Linked DNA regions of Homo sapiens: regions 1 and 3 are each linked to region 2. Evidence: promoter capture Hi-C in human tissues and cell types (Jung and others, 2019). All regions are on one chromosome and are shown on one strand. The core of a region is centred on a gene start or on the middle of the fragment in contact, and the rest is flanking DNA. Distances in the headings are between cores, read along the strand shown. Region 1 overlaps ZFAT (zinc finger and AT-hook domain containing). Region 2 holds the start of ST3GAL1 (ST3 beta-galactoside alpha-2,3-sialyltransferase 1). Region 3 overlaps LOC101927845 (a long non-coding RNA gene).

Evidence for each region. The method cuts DNA at HindIII sites, captures the fragments that hold promoters and counts their contacts. A contact is called where the count stands out against the background at its distance.
Region 1: a contact is called between a fragment that was not itself captured here and the fragment with the promoter of ST3GAL1 in region 2, in 3 of the 25 tissues and cell types used here (dorsolateral prefrontal cortex, hippocampus and spleen).
Region 3: a fragment that was not itself captured here is called in contact with the fragment with the promoter of ST3GAL1 in region 2 in 1 of the 25 tissues and cell types used here (dorsolateral prefrontal cortex).

The regions. Positions count from the first base shown.
Region 1 is chr8:134,658,500-134,662,873 of GRCh38, reverse strand. The region is part of intron 1 of ZFAT (zinc finger and AT-hook domain containing); the gene reads left to right. Among named protein-coding and RNA genes, the nearest start is that of ZFAT, 52 kb to the left of the region's middle. The HindIII fragment of the contact is 7,966 bases long and covers 1-4,374 here.
Region 2 is chr8:133,569,739-133,573,136 of GRCh38, reverse strand. ST3GAL1 (ST3 beta-galactoside alpha-2,3-sialyltransferase 1) reads left to right here and starts at 1,250. Exons shown (of 10, transcript NM_173344.3): 1 at 1,250-1,444. It overlaps ST3GAL1-DT (ST3GAL1 divergent transcript), which reads right to left and starts at 2,565. Exons shown (of 2, transcript NR_186509.1): 1 at 2,267-2,565; 2 at 1-2,079. RefSeq lists silencers at 501-560, 751-1,240 and enhancers at 3,031-3,250, 2,610-3,398. The HindIII fragment of the contact is 11,226 bases long and covers 1-3,398 here.
Region 3 is chr8:134,871,606-134,875,992 of GRCh38, reverse strand. The region is part of intron 1 of LOC101927845 (a long non-coding RNA gene); the gene reads right to left. Among named protein-coding and RNA genes, the nearest start is that of NCRNA00250, 36 kb to the right of the region's middle. The HindIII fragment of the contact is 4,143 bases long and covers 364-4,387 here.

The sequences.
Region 1 (4,374 bases), core at 1,719-4,218, 1.1 Mb before region 2:
GAAGAGGCTGCCTTGCAGGCTAGAGAGATGTGGAGGCTCAGGACACACTGGGCTGCCTCCCCTCTGGCCTTTTTACATGCTGTCTGCACAGTCTTTCTGTACGCTTGCCTCCCTGCTGACCAGACCTCTTATTATTTTGTAATTTTAATATAGATGCTGGCCTTTTACTCAAAGGCTTGAAAGTCTTGGAAAGCTGGTAAAAGTCATTTGTCCAGTGTAGCCAGTGCTTGGCGGTGGCCATTGTCACCCAGCCGGCCAAAGGATGCTTCCTTTTATTAGAGCAAACCTTCCCCAGGCCTGATGAGGGTGCCTGCTTTCTGAATATCCCTGCCTTGATCTCAGCCACCTTGTGCGACTCTGTGGCCATGTTAGGGAAATCTCACTTTTTGAGGTTACCAGTGTCTTCCTCATGGCTGGATCCAGTGCCTGCCCTCCCCATTCTTGCTGCATTTTTCAGGAGCAACCCCTCTTCTCTTCCACCTTCTCCCTAAGGGCCTTCTCTGTCACTAAGGACTGGGTCTTCTGTTTCTTGCTTGCTATGAGCTGAATGTTTGTTTCCTCCTAAAATTCATAGATCAAAACCTACCCCCTAATGTGATGGCCTAGCAGGTGGGACCTTTGGGAGGTGGTCAGGTCGTGAGGGTGGGGCCTTCATGAATGGAATTATTGCTGTTATAAAAGAAACCCCAAAGAGCTACCTTGCCCCTTCCACCATGTGAGGACACAGCAAGAAGGCACCAGCTATGAACCAGGAAGCAGCCCTCACCAAGCATTGATTCTGCCAATGCCTCTATCTCAGACTTCCCAGCCTCCAGAACTGTCAGAAATAAAGTTCTGTTAATAAGCCACCCAGTTGTGGCATTTTGTGATAGCTACTCAGATGGACTGGGACAGGGCCTTTGGAAGGATTTGGCTTCTTGACACTTTCCATCTTTAGGCTTGATGTTCCTCCTTGCGTGCTGACCCCATTTCTCTGCCCTACTGTAGCTGAACCCCACCCCGTCTTGCGCTGCCTGCTCCTAGTAGGCATCTGCATCCTGATGTCCTGCCCACAACCACCTGATCCTGCCCATCAGACCTGTCCTTGCTCCCTTGGGGGCACATCTGCCTCCCCTGTCTCTGTTGTTGGCCATGTCTAGTCAGTGATGGTGTCATGCCTGCTTGGCCTGACTCCTCTGCAGATCTGTGTCTCAGGCCATCATCTCTGCTCTCATCCCTGGACAGGCTCTTTGGTGTCAGTCCCACCCGTCTTGGGCCAATGTACTCCTTCCTTCTCCCTCCCTCATTCCGCCATGGCCACTTGCTGTCCTCCAGGTGCACTGAGGTGTCCAAGGCTAGCCAGATGCTGTTTCCAATGACCTCACATTCTAGGGGGAGCCATGTGATGGGGCCATTGCAGAATCCAGGGTGTGGACACGCAGGGGAGCTGGCACAGCTCAGGCACGTGGGGCCTCTCCTTCAGGGCCAGCCCCTTCAGACAGTTTCTCCTTGCCTTTGCTCTGCTGGTGGACTGCTGGCTCTCTCAGGAGCTGCCAGTGCCTGCCCAGTGACTGTGCTGGGGATCTCTGTCCCTGTGGGCGCAGGTCCCTGTGTTGTCAGCAGATCCACTCATTTCCCTCCCTCCTGCCTCCACGACACTCTGTGTGTTTCCTCCCTGAGCCTGCATGTCTCCTGCCCACGCGCCCTTCCTGGAGTTTCACTGCCCTGCAGCACTGAGCTCTGGTTGTCTCTCGGCTGAGAAGCCTCTCCTGTCCATGGCAGCCTGTCCAGATCGGTATCCACCCCACTCTCATGGCCCACGTCACGTGGCGGAGCCTTCTGTGATGTGAGAATCGTTCCAGGTTCCTGTGTTTGTCTCTGCCTCCACCTCGGGAGCTCCAGGTCCAGTTTCCCTGCCTGAGAGAGCTGAGTACACAGACACATGTGTTAATGCAAATTCATAACAGATGGCCAAGGCCAGGTGCCACCCAGGGTCCTCAGGCCTTCAGGTGGTGTGGAATAGCTGAGCAGTAGTTTATTTCCAGTAGTCTCCAACACTTTGTCATATACAAATGCAAAATAGTTTTATTTATGTAATCTCTGGGCAGTGCTTTGTGTACCTTTGAACTAGGAGACCCATTGTAATAGCCCTGTGGTCCCCAGAAGTTCAGCTCTGTTACATGTCACAGAATTCCCATTTTCCTGAGAGCATCCTAGGAACCAAGAATACTTACAGGTATTGGGAAATAATTTCAGTAAAAACATTACATGAGATTGTTCTGTGACATGTCTATAAAATAATTTCAGTAAAAACCATTACATGGGATTGTTCTGTGACATGTCTATCTGTTCAGTGATGTGGTGGCCTCCTCTTGTGGCAGGGCCTGGACCTCATGCCTGATTCATCTCTGTCTCCAGTGTCTGGGGTGGGGCCCACCTGTGGTTACTGCTCAATGGACACTGAAATGAACACAGTTGAAGTTGATATGTGCTTTGGGGATTACGCTCTTTGCTGTAATGAGTTTTATTTCAGATGCTGCTGGGTGTAGAGTCTTAAGTATTTTAGCTATAACTTGGAGGAACTCAGCTCATGGGCTGTAGCCAAACATAACTCCTGTCAAATGCAGGTAGGAGAGAATCTGGTCCCTGCCTCTTGCCCATAATGACTTGAGCAAGTTGCTTTTCCTCTCTCGGCCTCAGTTTCCTACCTTTGGACTGGGGATTACAAACCCTTTCTGCCTAAATCATTGGATTATTGTAGGATTAGCAAGAAGCACATTGGAAACAACTTGGCCTCCTATAAAGAAAAATGTATTACTCTAATCTCTTCTTGTTCGGGAAGCATTTTGGGTTCCTTAGGAATAGAACGTTTCCTGGAAAAAAATAATATCGATTGGCAGTATCTGTGAGAGATTTTCATTGGCGAAGCAATGTTCTGCTTTGTTAAATTTTGATTTCATGTGTTGTTGGTAGGAAAGAATTCTCTCAGGTCGTTACCTCCCTGCTAATTCACGGAGAAAGTCTTTCTGTGAACCCAGGGAGGGGCTTGCTCCTGGGACTCCAGTGCCTTCCAAGAGCTCCACCTTCATGCCAGCAAGGCTGGGTTGGCCTATTGCCTTTCCTCATTTCCTCTTTCTGGTAGGAGAGTTTTACTGTAAAGAGGAGAGAAATGGGTTGGGGGAGTGGGGATCAGGAGTTGTTTTCATTTTAAGATGGGAGAATAAGAGTATGCTTATAGGCCAATGGAAAGATCTAGTACAGAGGGAAGAATTGATGACCTGGAGAACAATCATCAGAGAGGGTGAGTTCTGCACGCACAAGCCATCATGCACCCTTTGTCTAGTAGCCTTCTCACACAGGGATGTGGGAGCATCTTCCTGGGTGCAGGCAATCAGGCATGCGCTATCTTTAGAGAATTTGAAAGTAATGATCACACAAGTGAAGTGTTGGTCTGCTTTTAGTATCTCCATGAACCAGCAATTCCAGACAATATCAGAGATATGATAGCCCTGCTCTGGGGTGGGCCACTGCTCTCACCCGCACACCTTGTGTCCCCCTCACTATGCCCACCTTCAAACCAGCAGGAGCGAGGTGGGGAGACAGCTGAAGACGCAGGCGGGCTGGAAGGGGTGGCAGAGGCAGTTGTTTTCTGGCTGCTTGCAGTGAGATATGAAGCAAGGTCAGCTGTTGAGAGTGAGGAGCGAGGAGGATGAGATACTTGCTCACCATCACCAGAGAGCGCAGAGCTTGTATGATTGCCATGTATTTGTCCAGCATCACCAGGCAGTAAATGGCGTAGAAGTTGCATGTGACTTCCAGGCAGCGTTGAGCCTCCCCAGGAGGCTGGTGAGGGGGATGCCGAAGGGAGCCAGGTGTGGATTGCCAGCCGTCCAGCTGCTGGGCGAGGGCACACCATGGGTGCAGAGTTGCGCCGAGTCAGTGTTGTGCTTTCTGAGTGTCTGCTGGGTTCTTGCTGCTGAATAGGCAAGTTCCATCCCCAAAGTTCCTATGGATTCCAGCAACTGACAGATGACTGCTTCTCTGAGGTCCTCAGCTTTCCAGCATTTAGGGACGAGTTGGGAATTTAACCTGGGCCTTTTGGCTCCAAAGCCATTGTCCTTTTCAGTGGACAAAGCCACTTCCTTTCAGTCTGAATGTAAAAATAATAATACAAAGATCTGGCTTTTAATTGTTATTGAATCCTGAATTTAATATTTTGTATATACCTATAATTATTTTATCAGTCTAAAAAGTGAGTGTTTTATTTCCCTTATTATGTCTTCCTGCCTAGTATAATGAGATGAACATAATGAACTATTGGTAAATTTTTTGAACAATGAGAGTGCTTTAAATAGGAATTCAGTGGCTTTAAAAAGGCAACAAATTCCTGCCGTT
Region 2 (3,398 bases), core at 1-2,500:
CACACATCCGTTGAGTGGCAGTGCAGGATTTGAACCAAGAAGTCCGGCCATGCGGGCCCTGGCCTGAATCCCTGTACTACAGCAGCCGTCTGATGAAACAAAGGCTGGGGGACTCTCCCCTTCCACTGCAAAAGGTTGATCTCTCTCCAGCTGGAGCAAGGGGCGCTGGAAGGATGCAATGACCCCAAAGGCAAACTGTGCCTCTTTCCTCTAACATTCCTCCGAAAAGTTGCGAAAGAGGTAGTCTCAGTAAGGGGTTAAGAACCGTAAAACCAGATTTACATGACTTGTGTACTGCATTTAGCATCAAAGCGCTGCACTCTGCCTTTCAGCAAAAGAAGTCTCCACCGCCCCCGCTTCCCTGTAAAAGAGGGAGGGCTGAATAACTGCAAGCCTAATCCGCAAACCCCAAGCTCCAGCCGCAGCCTCCGCATCTGGAAGGAAAAAGCGGCGGCAGGCGAGCCAGGGCAAGGGCTGGGCCAGGGCCGGGGCCGGGACCAGGGCCGGCCGCAGTGCCCGGCTCTGTGGCTCTGAACGCGGTTCTGGCCGCAAGAGTCGTCCAGCCCACGCTCCTCCCTTCCCCCTCCCTAAATCCCACCTCGAGTCCCGCGCCCTTAGAGGAAGTGGGTGGCTCTGCCCGGTCGCCAGCAGGGGATCGGCCCCTTCTCCCCACCGTGCCCCCGACTCGAGTTCTTCTGGGCACTGCCATCCTCTCGGTGCGTGCCCGTCTTCCTGCTGAAACGGACCCCAGTGGCTCCCGGGCCTCCCGGGCGCTCTTCCTTAGCCCCGCCAGCTTGAGGGCCGCGTCCAGAGAGCGGGGAGCTCCTCTCGGGGCGCCGATCAGGTCCCCGCGCCGCAGCCGCCGCCTCCGGCGTCTCCCAGGCTCGGCCTCTGCCGAGCCCGCTGCGGTCCACGTGGCTTGGCAGAGCTAAATTCGGCTTGCAGGAAGCCCGGAGCCAAGGGAAAGCCGAGCCAAGTTGGGGTGGGCGGGGCCGAACGGAGGCGCAGAGTCGGGAGGGGCGGGCACTGGGCGGAGGAAGGGGAGGGCCGCGCGCAGGGGAGGCGGTGGCTGGGCTCTGGCGCGCCCTGGCACCCGGCCCCGGCCGGCCAGGGAAGGCGGCCCCTCCTCGGTCGCCCCGCCTTTCACTCCCGTTACACCCGGGGGAAGGTGTTCCCGAGCCCTCTCCCACCCTCATCCCGCCTCCTCGCTTCCTCGGCTCCAGCCTCCGCCGGCGGAGCCCACTATGCCAGACAGTTTCGACACTTTGCAAAGACAAAGAGCCCTAGACCGGAGGGAGGAGGAGGAGGAAGAAGAGCGGAGAGAGAAGGAAGAGGCGATGTGAGCTGGGAAGGGGGCAAGTGTCCGGGACACCCACACCCCTGTATTCTCCTCCGAACCCCTTCATGCCCAAATCCCGGAAACTCCAGCGTGTCTCCAGCCGTGGTGAGTGCGCGCGCGGAGGCGAACCCTGCTCGGGGTGCGCGGGGGCTGCGTCCGCCTGAGTTGGGGCTCGGGCAGTTTCCTGTGGATTCTCGGAGTGGAAGGTTGATTGTCTGGACCCGGGAACTGAAGGGGTGGGGAGGGGACTAGGAGGGTGTGACAGTGGAGCTGGGACTGAAGACCCCGGGATTCTAGTGGAAGACATTCGAAGGGAGACCCCTTCCTTGGCAGCGGCGACCACCCAGGGCTTTGGGAGAGGAAGAAGGTCGGGGTGGAGGTTCGGGCTTAGGGGTCTTCGGCCGACACTGGAGGAGCTGCCTGGAGCTCTGTGGGGAACCTACGCCAAGTCCCGGGCAGCGGTTCCCGAAAGCAGCCCCAGTGACATTGCACCCGGCGCCGGGCTGGGATCTCCTCCGCTGGGGCCGCCCGTGGGAGGAGACCTCGCTGGGTGGCCGGGCTCAGGCGCTCTCGAGCGGATTTGGGGTCACAGGCTGGGACACCGCGGAGGCCGCCAGTGTTCTGGACGAGCGGCCGTGGGACAGTATCCGGATCGAGTCCCCCAATCCGCTGCAAGCAGGCGCAGATCCGGGAGGTGGCTATCGGCCCCGGGGACGCCGTCAGAGCGCGCTGCTCCGGATCTGGGGGTGAAGTTGACACCCGGGACAAGAGAGCTGAACGCGGCGTGGCGGACAGTGGGGGACGCGGGTGGGCCAAGGAGAGCACGGCCGGAGTCGTGTTAGTGGCAACTCGAAACTCTGAATCCGCCCCAACCCCGTGAGGCGTCGCAGCTCCCAAGAAATAATCTGACAAAAGTTAGCAACTTGCCTGTGTCTCTCGTGTGTGTGACCTGCGTGGGGGCAGGGCCACCCCTTCTGGGAGCGCACGGGGACGGACAGCGGTGACCCTGGGGCGAGGCGCTCTGGTGAGGGTACAGTTAGTTTGGAATCGGGACGGTGGCGCAACTTTCCGCTCCTCCTTTCTCTGCGCGAGTGTTTAAGCGTGACCTTGCGGGAGGAAGCGCGGCTGAACTTGAGATGGGGGTTGAGCTTGCGCCCCGGCTTGGCACAGAGACGTCGGAGCGCGCATTAGCCTGGCCTTGCAGCCGGGTCTCCCAGGAAGCGTGTGGGGATCGTCTGGCTCTGCTCGTCAGCTGGAGCCCTGACTCGCTCCTCCCTCCTACGCTAGGGTCCTCGGCGGCCGTACCATGCGCGGGGCTCGGTGGTGTGTTGGGCGAGGGGACACGTGCGCACCCAGAAGCGCGCAAGGGGGTGGGGGTTGGGCAGGTCACTGCGTCTCGCGGGCTGGGCGAGTCCCGCAGAGGGAGTCAGCCGTGACCCTGAGGGCAGTGACTGGCTCGCCGCGTCCCTGCATCAGGCATTCGCCCGGCTTTCTCGTGATTGTTTCCGGGCACCCCTGGCCTCTCCCGACTTCTCCCCCTCGCGGGTCCCCAAGCCCCGCAAGTTTGCGACGAGCTGGTTCTCCAGGGAGACAGCGAGCGCCCACCCCCGCTCTGCGGCTGGGTGTGTGTGGTGAGAGGAAGAGACGGGAGGAGGAGGCGAGGCCGACTCGCCAACGAGGAAAACGGGGTGAGAGGGGAGCCGGGTTTTCCAATAGTCGCCAGGGCGCCTGGCACGTCGTAGGTGCTAACGCAGTGTTCATTGACAAGGCCCCAAGGTGGAAGGTGCTGGCAGGGGCCCGGACGCCCCCTTCTTCCCTTCCAGTCTCTAAAATGGAGTTCAAATGTATCGACCAAGCCCTTTAGGCTTCTAGACGTGCCTGGAGCACCTACTACGTGCGGGGGCTCTACTCCTGGCCTGTTCGTAGAAGCTGCGGGCGGAGCCTCCTGATTTTCTTTACCCCGCGCTGCCCAAGCGCCCAGAGGCTTCGAAAAGGCAAGGTGCACTGCCCCCTGCCGGCTGCTGTGGAAACTGCCGCTTGTCTCTGCGGTGGGGAAGGG
Region 3 (4,387 bases), core at 1,186-3,685, 1.3 Mb before region 2:
TTGAATATGAAAGACCACAGTGGCAGACCATCCACATCAATTTGTGAGGAATAAATTAATCTTGTTCATACCCTAATTGAAAAGAACCAACAATTAACACCAGAAACAATGGCCAACACCATAGATATCTCAGTTGGTTTGGCTTACACAATTTTGACTGAAAAATTAAAGTTGAACAAACTGTCCATTCAATAGGTGCTAAAACTGTTGCACTCAGATCAACTGCAGACAAGAGGAAAACTTTCAATGGAAATTTTAAACATCTGGGATCAAGATGCTAAAGCTGGCTGGATAAAGTGGCTCATGCCTGTAATCCCAGCACTCTGGGAGGCTGAGACATGAGTATCATTTGAGACCAGGAGTTTGAGACAAGCCTAGATAACATAGTAAGACCTTGTCTCTACAAAAAATAAACAAAATTAGCCAGATGTGGTGGTGTATAACTGTAGTACAGCTATTCAGGAGGCTGAGGTGGGAGTATGGTTTCAGCCTCAGAGGTTGTGGCTGCAGTGAGCCAAGATCATACCACTGCACTCCAGCCTGGGTGACAGAGCAAGACCCTGTTTCAGGAAAAAAAAAAAAGACCCTATAGCATTTCTTTAAAGAATTTTAACAGGAAATGAAACATGGCTTTACCAGTATAATCCTGAAGACAAAATACAATCAAAGCCATGGCTACCAAGAGATGAAAGTTTACAGTCAAAGCAAAAGTGGAGGGGTCAAGACCAAGGGTCATGGCAACGGTTCTGGGGGATGCTCAAGGAACTTTGCTTGACTTTCTGGAAGACCAAGGAGCAATAACATGTGCTTGTTTTGAGAGTGTTTTGAGAAAGTTAGCCAAAGCTTTAGCAGAAAAATGCCTGGGAATGCTTCACCAGAGAGTCTTTCAACAGTGCTGCTTCTCATTCTTCTCATCAACCAAGGAAAATTCTGCAAGAGTTTTGAAGGGAAATCACTAGGCATTCACCTTACATTCCTGACCTGACTTCTTCTGACTTATTTTTTGTATCCTAATCTTAAAAAAAATCTTTAAATGGCATCCATTTTTCTTCAGTTAATAATGTTAAAAGACTGCATTGACATGGTTAAATTCCCAGGACCCTCAGTTCTTTAGGGATGAACTAAATGACTTTTTTTTTTTTTTTTTTTTTTGAGACGGAGACTTGCTCTGTCACCCAGGCTGGAGTACATTGGTGTGATCTCGGCTCACTGTAACCTCTGCCTCCCAGGTTCACGCCATTCTCCTGTCTCAGCCTCCTGAGTAACTGGGACTACAGGTGCCCACCCACCACCACCCGGCTAATTTTTTGTATTTTTAGTAGAGACGGGGTTTCACCGTGTTAGCCGGGATGGTCTCTATCTCCTGACCTCGTGATCTGCCCGCCTCGGCATCCCAAAGTGCTGAGATTACAGGTGTGAGCCACCACGCCTGGCCATGACTTTTATAATCACTTACAAAGGTTTCTTGAACTTGATGGAACTTGTGTTGGGAAATAAAGTTTATATTTTTAAATTTGTATCTTTTAATTCCATTTTTCTGTGAACTTTTGGAAGTCCCCTCATATGGTACATAGGTGTTGGAATAGTCATTGTCATGATCTCATTACGTTCTATAAGACTCCATCATAGCGAACATAAATAAGAGATTCTCCTGCTGGCCTTGAAGAAGTGAGCTGTCACAGTGTAAGAGGGCCATGTGGCAAGGAACAGCCAGTGACATCTAGGAGCTGAGAGTCGTCCCCAGCTACCAGCCAACAAGAAAATGAGGACGTTAGTGCTATGACTGCAAGGAACTAACTTCTGTCAACAAACGATGTGACCTTGGAAGAGGAACCTGAGCTGCAGAAAGGAAGGTAGCACAGCTGATTCCTTGATTGCAGCCTTGTGAGACCCTAAATAAAGGGCCCCTTTAACCCTGCTCAGATTCCTGACCCACAGAAACTGTGGGAAATAAGAAAGATACTTTGTTTTAGGCTGGTAAGATCGTAGTAATGTGTTACACAACATAGACATCTAATACAGCAGTTGACATTGTTAATCCCAGAGTCAGCATGGGAGAGCATTACCAAAAAGTAGAATAAAAAGAGGCATGAATAATTGGGGCTATTAATGCAATCAATCCGTCATACTTTCTAAGCGCTGGGGGTGGGGGCAACCCTTTGTTAAAATAGCACTGCACCAACATGTTTATATGCTCTACAGACTTGGCATTGCTGTTCTGTTTCTTATTTTCCAGCACTCATAAACAACCTGACTATGACAACTGCAGACTCAAAAAAGGAGTGAGCTGAGAAACAGAGTCAGTATACTGCATAGGAGCAAGAACTCTTGAGCCAGATATCATGGGTTCAATTCCCAGCTCTCACACATGTCAGCTGTGTGACTCTGGACAAGTTCCTTATTCTCCCTGTGCCTTAATGGTATCAATGAAAAAAATATTATAATACTATCCACTCTCAGGGTTTTTGTGGAAATTACATAAGTTAATTTAATATATGTAAAACACTTAGAACAGTGCACGGCACACTGTAAATATTACATTTGCCACATTATTCTAATTATTTTCAAATGATTAGCCAATATAACAATTACAGTCACTCCAACAGAATATTCAAGTAAGGAGAAACCCTATTCCTTGATACTACAGAGGAACACACATATTCTTTATGCACTTTAAAATACAAGACATGGCTGGGCGTGGTGGCTCACGCCTGTAATCCCAGCACTTTGGGAGGCCAAGGCGAGTGGATCACAAGGTCAGGAGATTGAGACCATCGTGGCTAACTCAGTGAAACCCCATCTCTACTAAAAAACAAAAAATTAGCCGGGCGTGGTGGCGGGTGCCTGTAGTCCCAGCTACTAGGGAGGCTGAGGCAGAAGAATGGCGTGAACCTGGGAGGCGGAGCTTGCAGTGAGCCAAGATCGCACCACTGCACTCCAGCCTGGGCAACAGAGCAAGACTCCGTCACAAAAAAAAAAAAAAAAACCACAAGACATATAGAAAAATATACAACTAATTACTTGCCCCTAAAATATATAACCAATAAAATGTCTTATAGAGAAGAACAAAAAATAAACAAGAACCTACACCATTTTCACAGTAAAATTTTTTTAGTACTGAAAGCCTCATAGAATAATCCAATTTTATTGAGATTTTGGAACTTATCATGAAGACTTACTAACAAATTCTAGTTCTTGCCCTTTCACTTCCAAGGAATATATCATTTAAAGCATAGTCTTTATAATGCTTGTAATAGAGCACACAATTGCCTCATTTTCGTAAGTCAAGGTGGGAGTTCTGCATTTTTCCCTTGGAATTAGGACAAGCAGTCAGGCTTTGGAAGGACAGGCAGTGCTCTTGGTGTCAAAGAAACTGGAGTCCTTCAGGCTCTACCACTTGCAACTTGAGGGAACTTCGAAACATGGTCAAAGCTGCCTGAGCCTCAGTTTCCCTGATAACATTAACACACCCTGCTTCACAAGATAAGAATAAAGACCAGAGGAGGCAAAAGGATGCAAATGGGGCTTTTAAAACAGCATGTCTAGTTAGGGTCCTATCAGGAGACAGAAACTCTACCGGTTATTTTAACAGAGAGACCTTGATACAAAGAATCATTAACCAAGTACTGGGTAGAAAAAAAGGGGGAGCACTAAGAAGTACAACAGCAGCAACTGTCAAAGCAGCTCCCAACCCAAGGGCTAGGAAACAGAAGAAAAGATCGGGATTATTAGAATGTAGAATCTCTGAGGAGGGAGGCCCTCTGGAGCTTGAACACAGATGTCTAAAGAAGGGGCTCCAGTTGGTATGTACTGGGGGTGCAAGGAGGCTGATCCCAGGAGTGTGGAACGCCTGCAACCTGAAACCAAGGGGACTCTGGAGTCCACTACTGCTGCTGGGGTCATTCTTGGACAGAGGATGCAGAGATGCCCAAGGCTTTCTTCCTCTCTCACACCCCCATCCAAGAACCTAAATTCAGAGCCAGTGGACAGGCTAGAAATGTGGTTTGCAGAGTCCCAGCCCCAGCATCATAAATCAGAGTAGCAAAGAGTGGGTTTGGAGCTGAGAGTCAGTAACTCAATGTCCAACAGAAAAAGATAAAGTATTAAACCTGTAGCCAGAGCCAGGTGTGGTGGCGTGCTACTTGGGAGACTGAGGCAGAAGGATCGCTTAACACAATAACCTCATTTTCACAAGTCAAGGTGGGACTCCTGCATTTTTCGCTTGTAATTAGGACAAGCAGTCAGGCTTTGGAAGGACAGGCAGTGCCTTGGAGTCAAAGAACCTGAAGGCATTCAGGCTGCACCACCTGCAACTTGAGGAAACTTTGAAACATGGCCAAAGAGCCCAGGAGATCAGGGATATAATGCACTATGAGTGCACCTGTGA